Linked DNA regions of Homo sapiens: region 2 is linked to region 1. The links are contacts of gene promoters, found by promoter capture Hi-C in human tissues and cell types (Jung and others, 2019). All regions are on one chromosome and are shown on one strand. The core of a region is centred on a gene start or on the middle of the fragment in contact, and the rest is flanking DNA. Distances in the headings are between cores, read along the strand shown. Region 1 holds the start of FSIP1 (fibrous sheath interacting protein 1). Region 2 overlaps LOC105370777 (a long non-coding RNA gene).

The links. Contacts are between HindIII fragments. The study calls those that stand out against the background at their distance.
Region 2: a fragment that was not itself captured here is called in contact with the fragment with the promoter of FSIP1 in region 1 in 3 of the 25 tissues and cell types used here (IMR-90 fibroblasts, hippocampus and lymphoblastoid cells).

The regions. Positions count from the first base shown.
Region 1 is chr15:39,779,565-39,785,459 of GRCh38, forward strand. FSIP1 (fibrous sheath interacting protein 1) reads right to left here and starts at 3,277. Exons shown (of 12, transcript NM_152597.5): 1 at 3,064-3,277. It overlaps LOC105370941 (a long non-coding RNA gene), which reads left to right and starts at 3,342. Exons shown (of 1, transcript NR_135665.1): 1 at 3,342-5,895. RefSeq lists a silencer at 2,907-3,086 and an enhancer at 3,387-3,516. The HindIII fragment of the contact is 15,521 bases long and covers 1-5,895 here.
Region 2 is chr15:39,180,648-39,186,542 of GRCh38, forward strand. All of the region lies in intron 1 of LOC105370777 (a long non-coding RNA gene), which reads right to left. Among named protein-coding and RNA genes, the nearest start is that of LINC02915, 67 kb to the right of the region's middle. The HindIII fragment of the contact is 5,782 bases long and covers 464-5,895 here.

The DNA of each region.
Region 1 (5,895 bases), core at 2,027-4,526:
CTTTTTCAACAAAATTGGACTAATGTGTTTTTCACCAGTACATAATGAGCATTTTCTTATGACATTAAAACACTTCAAAATAGAATCATATTTACTTCATGATACTTGATTAAATAGATTAGATATATGACCAGATTCTAAACTGTAACAAGTGCCAACTTATATAACATTCATTTCAAACAAGATTAAAGTTTTTCATAGAGGCTTCTGAGAAATGCAATCAACATAGATGATTTAAAGCCAAAATGGGGACATATGGCTGCTATAATTTGGTATTTTGAGGTGAATAAAAGAATCAAAAGAAAATGAATCCTCCTCTGTTTAGTCATTATGAGTAGCAAGACTTTAAAAAGTGGGACTGATTTAGTTTCATTATTTTTATGTCTAAAAATTATTTATGTATGGTCAGTTTTTTTACTTTATATATTTGTGTATCTGTAAGGAATACTTGCCCATGCAGAAAAAACATCAAATAATACAGGTGAATATCAAAATGTTTTAAGTCAAAATTCGGCTTATCCCAAGAATTAGTGTTAATAGAGACTTGCAGGTCTCATTTTTTTAGGCATATGCAAACCTTCTATCTTTTATACCCATCGACTCCTCCCCAACGCAGACACACATACAAATGGCATGGTGCTTTGCAACTTGCTTTTTCACAATTAACAATCAATTTTGGCCAGGCGCGGTGGCTCACGCCTGTAATCCCAGCACTTTGGGAGGCCGAGGCGGGCAGATCACGAGGTCAGGAGGATCAAGAACACCCTGGCTAACACGGTGAAACCCCGTCTCTACTAAAAATACAAAAAAATTAGCCGGGAGTGGTGATGGGCGCCTGTAGTCCCAGCTACTCGGGAGGCTAAGGCAGGAGAATGGCCTGAACCCGGGAGGCGGAGCTTGCAGTGAGCCGAGATTGCACCACTCCGGCCTGGGCAACAGAGCGAGACTCCGTGTCAAAAAAAGAAAAAAAAATTTATTTTATCTATTTTTCTATATCACCATTTATAGATATACGTCATGCTTTCAAACAACAGCATAATATCCCATAGATGCAGCACTTTTTTCATCAGTTCACTTAGGTGGTATATAGAATATTTGCTATTAAAAGCAATTCTAAAACTTGCTCAAAATGTATCACAGACCTAAAGTAAAACTTCACACTATAAAATTTTCTTTTTGTCGTTGTTATTGTTATTGTATTTGTAGTAAAGACAGGTTTCACTATGTTGGCCAGGCTGGTCTCGAACCCCTGACCTCAAGTGATCTGCCTGCCTCAGCCTGTCAAAGTGCTGGGATTACAGGGGTGAGCCACCGTGCCTGGCCAAAACTATAAAATTTCTAAAAAATACATGTGACTGTGGGTTAGGCAAAAATTTCTTAGATACAACATCAAAGGCATGATTCATAAAAGAAAATATGGATAAATTGGAAGGCATCAAAATTTAAAACTTGTAGTCTTCAAAAGATGTTAAGACAAGGAAAACAAAACCCAAAGACTAGGAGCAAATATTTGCAAAACACATATCTGACAAAGGACTCATATCCAGAATATATAAACAAGTATCAAGACTCAATAACAAGAAAACAAAGGATTTGGACACACACATCACCCCAGATGATGTACGGATGGCAAAAGAGCACATGAAAAGATGTTCAACATCATTACCCCTCAAAAAAATAAAATAAAAATCACAATGAGATACCACTACACACCTATTCAAATGACAAAAATTAATTTTTTAGAAAACTGACAATACCAAGTGCTGACAAAGTTGGAGAGCAACTGTAACACTCATATTGCCAATGACAATGCAAAATCATCACTTTTCAAAACTGCTTAGCAGTTTCTTATAAAGTTAAACATATATTTACCATATGACTCCACAATCTCATTCATATTTACCCAAGAAATGAAAACATATTCACACACACAAAAAAAAACCTGTACATGAATATTTATACCAGCTTCATCAATAATAGCCAACAACTGGAAAGAACTCATCCAAATATGCCTCAAGTAGGAAATGGATAAATATACTACCGTAGATCCATACAATGGACTATTACTCAGCAACATAAAGGAACAACTGATACACAGAACATGAATGAATAGCAACTGCATGATGCTAAGCTGAAAGAAGCCTGATTCAAAAGGCCACAGGGTGTTTGCTTCCATCAATATGACATTCTGGAATAGGCAAAATTACAGGAACAAAAAACTAGGAAGTTGTTGCCAGGGATGGCGTTAGGGGAGGGATTAAATACAAAGAGCACTAGGGAATTTGGGGTTCATGATGAAACTTCCGTATGCTGATTGTGGTGGTTGGTAATTACATAACTGTATACATTTGTCAAAACTCACAGAACTGTAGATTAAATGGGTGAGGCTTACCATAAGTAAGTTATACCTCAATTTTAAGTTAATATATTTGTGCCAATCTTTCTTTAGTTATGCTCATACATCCATAAAATATATTAGAATTGCTGAGTCAAAGAACACTTATGTTTCAAATTTTGGTAGTTCGCCAAATTGTACTCCAAAAAGGCTGCACCAAATTACACTACTTCCCCTACACTGGGCTGGGGCCCATCTGGTTATGTCAAAGCTGTTTCATCTTCTCCAGTCTCATAGGTGTAAAAGGTATCTGTGAATTTGGTTTACATTTCTTCACGAGAAAAGTTGAGTCTCTAATCAATTGTTTGCTGTTTGCATCTTTTTATTTTTCCTGTGAAATGCCTATTTGCATCCTTTGCCGTTTACGGTCTAGTTTAAATGGCTGGTGATCAGTTCTAGATCTTGGTGGGAAGATCCAAATCTCGGGAAAGTAGAAGCCTTGGTTACAGGTCCTAATGTTAGGTGATTCCTGGAGAAATAGCCTCCGCGGAGGCAGAAGCCGCTGGGGCCCCGCCCCCAATGAGCCCGCCCCCGCCCTCTCATTGGCCCTGTCCGCTCTCCCTGACAGTCCATCTACATGCCAAGCGGCCCGACGCAGCTCCGCCCCGCCCACTCCTCGGCGCACCGCCCCGCGACCGAGCTCCGCCCTCATCTGCGCGGCCCCTCACCTTCCCGCCGGGCCTCCTCGAGGAACTGGCCGCCGTCAGTCAGGGCGCAGATGGCCGCAGAAGCGCGCCGCAGACACTCGCCGCGCCAGCCACTTACCCCCAGAGGAGAGGGGTCTCTCCCGCCACCTCAGCCTCTCTGGTAGTGGAAGAAGCCGCCGGTCCAGATCCCTCCTGCCTGTGGGACCGCTGTTTCCCTGGCAACCAGATGCGCGATGCTTCCGGTCTCGCGATAGCGGAAAGGGCTGTACCATCCGGAAATGGGACCGGGGCCGGCGGCTGTTGGAGCCCTGCGAGCTGGGACGGCCGGCGTGTGTCCTTCCGTCTTCGCTGCCGACGGTGGGGGTTGGGAGCGATTTTTCGTCTTTAGGTTGGATTCGGAACGCGGACGTCTGGATGCTTGTGTATCTCTGTCCCTCATATTGCTGTGATGCCTTACAGGTCAGTTATCCTCTCCGAGCACAGTTTCCTCCTCCGTAAAATGGGAACAATAATAATTCCCTTCTTACAAGACTTGTGCAGCTCAAAAAGACCATGTATGTGAAGCTCTAGTAAATTTGGGGTGCTATGGAAATTTTAAAAATATGAGTTTTGCACAGATTCGGCTACAGTCCAAAAAGAGTTATAATTGCTTTTTGCACCTTCTTTCATTTCGTAGTTTCTCTAATTCTCAGTGCACGAAAATTATTTCCCTACGTCCACAAACTGATTTTCCTCACCTCCATTGCCATCATTTCTCCTGCTTTCCAGTCTGAACAGCACATTACCGTTTACAGGGCATTTTCACATTCATGGCCCCTTTGTCCTCATTGTTTTAACTAGGTACGATGTGGTTTTTTTTCAGCGAAGCAAATAGTCGTAGGCTGAGTTGCCGAAAGAACACAGCTGCAGTCTAGGCGAGTGCTGGGTATAAAAACCTGGCTATAAATGCCATCCCTATGCTCCTGAATCCTGCATCTTATCACCAGCCCAGACTTCCCTGAACTCCAGACTCCTTTACCTAACTGCCTATTTGGCATATCCACTTAGATGTGTAAGCATCTCAAACTTAACACGGGAAAAAACAACTTCTCCAGAGTCCCCCACCCACTTTCTATCCATCTCAGCAAATGGTAATTTCAGCCTGCCATGCCTAGACCAAAAACCTTGGAGTCATCCTCAATTCTTCTTCCTCTCTCACTCTACAATCTATTTGTCCTATCAGCTCAACATTCAAAATATATTCAGAATCCAAACATTCGTCACAACTTCAGTGCTTCCATTCAGGTTCATACTGACATCATCTCTAAATGATAAGGCTTTCTGTTGGCTCTCTGACCTCCACTCCTACCTACTGCTTTCCCCTGGTAAACCTGGTTCCAGCCTCACTGTCCTCATTGTTAGTGTTTCTGTGCAGGGATTTCTTCCCAGCATTTCTCAGGGAATTTATGTGGCTTTCCAAATCTCAAAAGAAAAAAAGTTGCAAACTGAAGAAAATGGGAGAAAGTATCCTAATCCTCCTATGAGAATTAAAACTTAGCAGCCGACCTAGAGATGTTACTGAAGAAATTCACCAATGTCAAGTTGAAAACCAGCACAGGAAATGCTGAGTTCGAGGTTGAGGTGAACATTTTCAGGAACCAGGTCAGGAGCACTTGGGAGAGACATGGCCACAATCTCATCAGTCAGTCTTGTTTGTAGTTGGTGCCATGAAAGCCTATGTTCCTGGCCCTGTGTGCCGCTGGCAGTGAGTCATTCTTGCAAATAAAATATAAATAGGTTGATACTCATTGTATACTTTATACAAATTCTATGAGCAGTGTTCAAAAAAGTAACGGGTTTTGGATTCAAAGTAAATCCTTAAATTGACAGTTTCCAACCCATGATTCTGGGTAGTACAGTTAACCCTGCTAGGAGATCTATTATTTGAATACTCCTCAATAATGTTCTCTGTGTTTTCCAGCATTTGAATATTTGCTATAAACCCCACTTCTTGTAAACACTTCTAAATTTAATAGTTCTCATTTTTTAAACAAAGGCTTCAGATACTTGTAATAATGAGTAAAGAATATGAAGAAGGTAGAGAATATTTTAAGAATAAGATTTTGAGAACAGCTGGTAATTCTGATTTCCTGTTTCTGCATCCCAAAGATCAGTATCTGTCAGGAATTTGGAAACACTTGTTGTTCCTCCAGTCCAAATACACACACACACACACCAGCCTGAAATACAGTTTCCCAGCTATCCACCTGGTTTGCTCCTCTCTTTCCTCAGGCGTCCGCTTCCTCAGGAGGGCCTTTCCCAACCACCCTGTATAAAATAATTATCCCCATCTCCACACTCCCTACCCTCTGTCCCCTCAACCCTGCTTTATTTTTTTATGAAGAAGAGAGATGACATTATTTGGATTTTGATATTAAACAGCTAGGTTATCTTAGGTAAATACATAAGCTTTTGTGGGCCACAGTTTCTTCATTTGAAAAATGAAGTTGGACTAGTTTTGCAGTGCTTAACTGCACAGAGCATTAGAATCACCTGGGGAGACTTCATAAACTACACAACCAGGGGTGTACCTGAGATCAAATGAATCTAGGCCTTCTCAACTTTAATGTGCAGACAAATCACCGAGGAATCTTGTTAAAAATGCTGATTCAAAAAAAAAAATGTTGATTCAGTATCAGGTGAGACCTGAGACTAACAGGCTCCTAGATGATGCCAATGCTCCCCGTCCACCGACCGCTGTTTACCTAGCGGCAAGACGAGATCATTGCCAAGTGCCTGCACGGTTCTCATACACCATAAACGAAGGCCATTCTTTCCAGTTTTTAATTTGGTGACTAATAGTGTCCACTAAGA
Region 2 (5,895 bases), core at 2,105-4,604, 600 kb before region 1:
TTTTATTAAGCAAAACAATTCTGAGAGTGCATTTTCTGACAAATTCATATGATTAACCTCAACATTCTGTTTACAATATATAATCACACAGGAAAAAATGCATAAAAGCAGGATAACTTACTTAATTCACAAATTCTTTGTTATTTCCCATAGAGTGTTATTTCCCAGAGTTTCACATCTGGAAAAGCTCATGCAATTAAACAGTATGTCCAAGAACAGATCATCTGAAGGAATTCCAAATATATGCTTTTTTTTTTTGGCATTGCATTGCTGGTTTTATCTAATGGAGAGCATTTGAACACAATAAGTCAAGGGAAAAATTTTTAAAAAGACTCTGTGTTATAGTGTCCTAGGACATGAAGGGACACCCTAAGTCTGCTGGGGGTTGTCCTGTGCCTCAAGGTAAGACTGTACCAAAACAATTCCAGAGAATTCACTGTCTTAAATATTTAGGAAAGGAGCTCTATGCTGCCATTGATCCTGTGTCCTCATTATTTATTTGCAGCCATGAAGGCTTCCTTTGTTCATAATCTATATCCTTCCTCTTAAGCCCATTTTTTTTCCTCTCTCTCTCTCTGAGAACAAGGCCACCAGACAAAGTCACAGCCCCAGCAGGCTCCTGCTGCTCTCCAAATTCTTACAACTGCACAATGGTCACTGCAGAGAAAACTCAACTCATTGCTGTGTGGGAGGTCAGAATTAAAATGGCAATAGTTGAGAAGGGAGGAGAAGAGTAAAAATAAAGAAGAAAATAGGCGTTCTTCAGCCACAGAAAACATTTTATGACAATGCTACAGCACAAAATTAGCTAACACATTGCAAGACTTGATTACATGACATTGGAGGAATTATTCCATTTGGCATTTTACTCCCAGCCTTTTCAAGAGAGCTGTATTAAAATCTGGCAGAGGGGAGGGGAGGGGCTGTGTCTGCTTTGCAGCAGGGATTAGAATGATGTATGACAGGAGTTTATGATGCTGCCTCTCAGGTTTTTCTGACCTCCCTATCTAAATAGGTTCCTGCCTTCCCCCACCATTGATATTAACCATCATAGCATTATGCTTATTTTCTGCTTAGCATTTATTACAATCTGTAATTAATTTTTTAAAAATCGGTTTGTTGTCCCATCTTCACACCAAAATATTGTTCCAGGAAGGCAATAACCCTACTTGTTAATCATTTTTATACCTGTATCACAGGCAGCACCTACATAAATAGGATAAAAGAATAAGTGTGTAAACAAATGCTATCCCCAGAACCCAGACCTCCTTGACTCCATTGCCTTAGAAGACTTTATTTCCTGCCCACCCATCCCTCTGTAGCAGGAGCCTCATGAATCATATTTGTCTGCATTGCCTTTATTAATGGATAACTATGGACAGAGTTCTCCTTGCAGTTCTCCTCTGTGTGAGCATAGCCAGCCAACACCCTACAGTTAAAGCTTGCAGTTGTTTGGTGTTTAACTTTGAGCACATCGATGGACTCAAGTTTCTATTTGCAAAGTCAGACCACAGAAATTAAGTTAATTGAGACATGATGGCAAAAGAATTTCCCTTTGGGGATGAGTTTATAAGCTTCTCCAGTCTTTTGGGATGATTGGCACATCTTTTCTGCCTAATCCTTTCCCCGTACAAAAATGAAGGAAAAATGATCTGCTATGGAAGAAAGAAACAAAGGACTGTGCAGACATTTGATTATCTTTTAAAGTGAGAGATGAACTAAAAACCATGTAATGGCCTCTTTAAGTGAATGGTAGAGAGGAAAAAAAGCTAAAGTTGAAACTAGCAAATCTTTTCTTCAGAAAAGCAAGCTGAAACTTTGGTTGAGTAAATAAAACCTGCTATAGCTTATATTAGAAAAGCACATAGGGAGAGTAACCAAAATAAAATTTGCATCTAAGAGTTATCCATTAGTTAGAGGTTTGTATTTATCATTTTCAGGCTTTGAGTTATATGGTGCTTGTGTATTTTCAAATCTTTATTTGCAAATTGCAGTGCATATGGTGTAGTGGGGAGAACAGTGGGCCTAGCACATAGAGGGGCCCCAAAAAATCTCAGGTAAAAGAATAAAAGTCAAGTAACAAGAAGATTGTCCAAGTATCACTTATGTATAACCTTGGAAAAATGATGTAACCTCTCAGAGCCTCAAAATCCCATTTTGTAAGATGCTGTCTGCCCAACTCAAGAGGGTTATATAAAACCCAAATGACATAATGCATATTAAAAATATATATATTATAAAGCCAAATTAAATGTGAAGTATAATAGTAATATTTTGTAACAGAATTATGAAACTCACTAAGTTCTTATTTAATAAATATCTATTATATATACTATATGTGATTTTTTGTTTTCCTGACTTTTGATATTCTGCAGTTTAAAAAGATGGATACACTTCACTGTAAAATTTTAAATGGAAAAAATGTTTTAAAAAATTGAAATTCCTTTACCTGATCCCCATTCCAAATACATTCTCAGAGACAAATCCAGTTGACAGTTTGATATATAATCTTACTGATCTCTTATAGCAGGTATGCCATATAAGTTGTATATATTATTTTTACAAAAATGCAATTACACTATACATATTGCTCTGCATTTCTCAGTAAACAATATCTGATAGATACCCTTTGATCTCAGCACATATAGATCTGCCTCATTGTTTTTAATGGCTTCATAATATTTCATAATGCCATTATTTCTCAATAATTCACAGCAGATGACTAACAGCAAAATTGATTGCATCATTTTAAATAGGTTAATGGTGTGGCTAAAGAATCATTACTTTTTCAACAGAAATGCCATTTTCATGATTGGCATTTCTAAATCCTTCAGCGTCAGAGAAGATTCTAGAACTTCTCATTTGTGGCTAGTTTCAGGGTAGAACAGCTCTTCTTCCTTGTGTCTCACCTGAATATCTGCTGTTCAGATATTGTAAGACTGTTTACAAAATATGATTTGGCAGAGTTTCCTGGATAATGTTTTGGGCAGAACAATCAGTCCTGGTTCCACCTGTTATGATGTTAGGAAAAAGTCATTAAACTTCTCAGTATTGTGCCTTTTTCTTCTTACACAACAGTGTTCCAGAGCTGCTCTTAACCCCTTCATGGGATTAGTGTGAGACTCAAGGAAGTCATGGAGGTGAAAGCCACTGGGCACCTAGAGAGATGCTACAAGGATCCAAGAGGCCATCTTGATTCCACAGTTAAGAATGCCTTGGGAGCTATTTGTCCCCATCCTCTCTCTGTGAGCGCACATTTAATCGCTTTGGAAACCCTATAAGACAGGCATTGGTATCTCCAGGTTTTGTAGATGAGAAAGTGAAGCTTCGGGAAATTAAGAAGACTACCTAAAACCCTATTCGTCTTAAATGGCAGTGGAGGGCTTTAATCCCGAATCTACCAGCTCCACATTCTGTGTTTATTCAACTAAGGAAACCAAGTCTCCAATGGTCACAGAATCAAGGTGGCTTTCATCTGGCAGTGGTTTCAGGTGAAGTTCCTGGAATCTTACTCTTGGCTGATGGCAGTGCTTCCTGTCCATGGCTTACATCGAGCCCAGAGTATATTTCTCAGTGTGAAATGTGTTCAGGGTCTTCAGGAGGAATAAGCTGGGTACTTACAAGTTTTTATCACATTATGGCCATTCTCATTCACATTAGAGTTAGGGTGGCCCAGCATATGAATTTGAGGGGTTCTGTGGAGCTTTCGTTTCTCAAGTGGGCTTTGCCAAGCACAATGAAGAGGGCAATGTCCTATTGCCAAAGTGTACCCTTCTGGGGCTACATAAGCCTGATGAAAAGTCATGAAGCAATGTGTGGAGCTGCATGGTGGAATGAGAGGCAGTGTTTTGCATTAATTGAGAAGAAGCTATTTCTTTAACTCCCCTCCAAAAACACCTGTCATTGAAGACATTTTCTAGGTTTCACAAGGCAAAGAGATTCCCTAGACATTTTCTAGGTTTCACAAGGCAAAGAGATTCCCGAGAGACAATCTGGTTGTTTGAGTGCCCACCACAGGCCTGTTAACAAGGGAAATAAAGGGTCTTCCTTGCCAGGCATGCTGATGCTGTGAGCTTCTTAACTGAGTCCAGTTGTTCTGTAAAATTCTGAGAAGGGTTGTGAAAAGGGTGATTACTCAGGTCTCACTTCCCTGAGGTGAGGAGGACACATACTGACAATAGCCCAAGAGGATTCTAGCACAAAAAATCCAAAAAGGGCAAGCAATGACCCTGGTTATTCCTGCTGATGACGCCTCACACAGAGGACTCACTCTGAGTAACAGCAATAAAATTGACAATAGAATTTTACTGTCACAATGTGAGAGTTGCCTTTATAGATCATTTTATTATTTGTTCATTTTCAGAAAAAATAGATTGGGCCAACTTCTGAAAACAATATTACTATTTTTCCTAGATGCACTCCAAATTTAGGGTTGCCAGGCTGTCAACTGACCTGCAGCCTTTGACACAGTGAGCATGGAGCAGTGGGACCCAGATTAGTGATGCCTGCTTGTGGCTGTCAGGGCCTGTCATCGTGGGTGGTTAGGCTTCCAAGCCTCCCAGGCAATCCGTGAGACATGGACTTACCTCAAACCACCCACGCTTGTCTGGCTCCTGCAGGTTGGCATGCTTTGACAGCCACTGGGTGCCTGGGCCACCAGGAAGTCCTGCTGCTGCTCTGCCACTGGCACTGCCTCTCCCCATCCTCATCTACATCCATAGAGATGGAAGTGATTTGCATGGGAATCCCACCCTGTTCATCCTCTAAATTCATGTGCATTCTCAGGAGCTAAACAAGCAAAGGACTGTGTTCTCACCTGTATCATTTGTTCATGTAACAAAGATGTTTAGAAGACTGTTGATTATCACCCCCTCCAGTCATCATTCTCACACTAATCCTAGCAGTTGGTGATCTGGAGAACGTTCTCAATCTTCTTGAGTTTTACATTTCCATCCTCGAAAGAGGAAAGTGCCTCACAATGTTGTTCTGAGGTTTATGTAATTCTCTGAAAGTGTTTATAAAGTTTAACAACATAAGTTGTTTTTTAGTGGTACTAACAACCAACTAGTATTGGATTTGCCCCATCCATCCAATATTGTATTTACACAAAGTAGAGATTTTACCAAAGAGAGTTATGCAAATCTCTGCTCTATTTGCTGTATCTTTGGGGAGATCTGGCTTTCAAAATATCAAAACAGGAGAATATTGCTTCCAACCACTGATTCCTCTGGCAGACTTTTCACCTAGAGGGAACGATCTGTCCAGATCAGTTTAAGCTGACTTGGAGCTTTTTCTCACCTTCTCTTAGATTCCATCTCTGTGAGAAAGAACCATTGATGGGCCAAGCTGTGTGTGCTCAGTTGAGAATGTTGATTCCCAATACTTACACTTCACCCCCATGAAACTCAACCCTCGGGGATATTCTCCCAATGTATCAGCGAACAATTCTGGATGGAATAAGTCAGCATGTTTTGGTCCTCTTTCTTTTAAACCTACCTTAATGATCTGAACCCTTTTTATGAGCTATCTACTTAACAGTCATGATAGTAGGTTAAAAATAATCTTAATGAAAAAGAAGATATTTTATTGTCACAATGTAAAATTTGCCTTTGTAAATCTTTATCTATTCATTTTCAGAAAGAATAGATTGGACCAATTTCTAAAGCCAAAAGTATTATTTTTCCTAGATGCATCCCAAATTTAATTGATGTAAATTGATATCCAACAATTTTATATGTTTAGCAACTTGGACAATTTTACAGAATGTCATTTAAAAGTGGAATTCTCTAGAAAAGCTCCAGTGGAAATGGCATGGTGTTTTATTATTTGATGACGCTATTTTTGTATATGATCCTATTCCCCGTTGTGCTTTGGATTCTGGTTGAGATTTCAGCG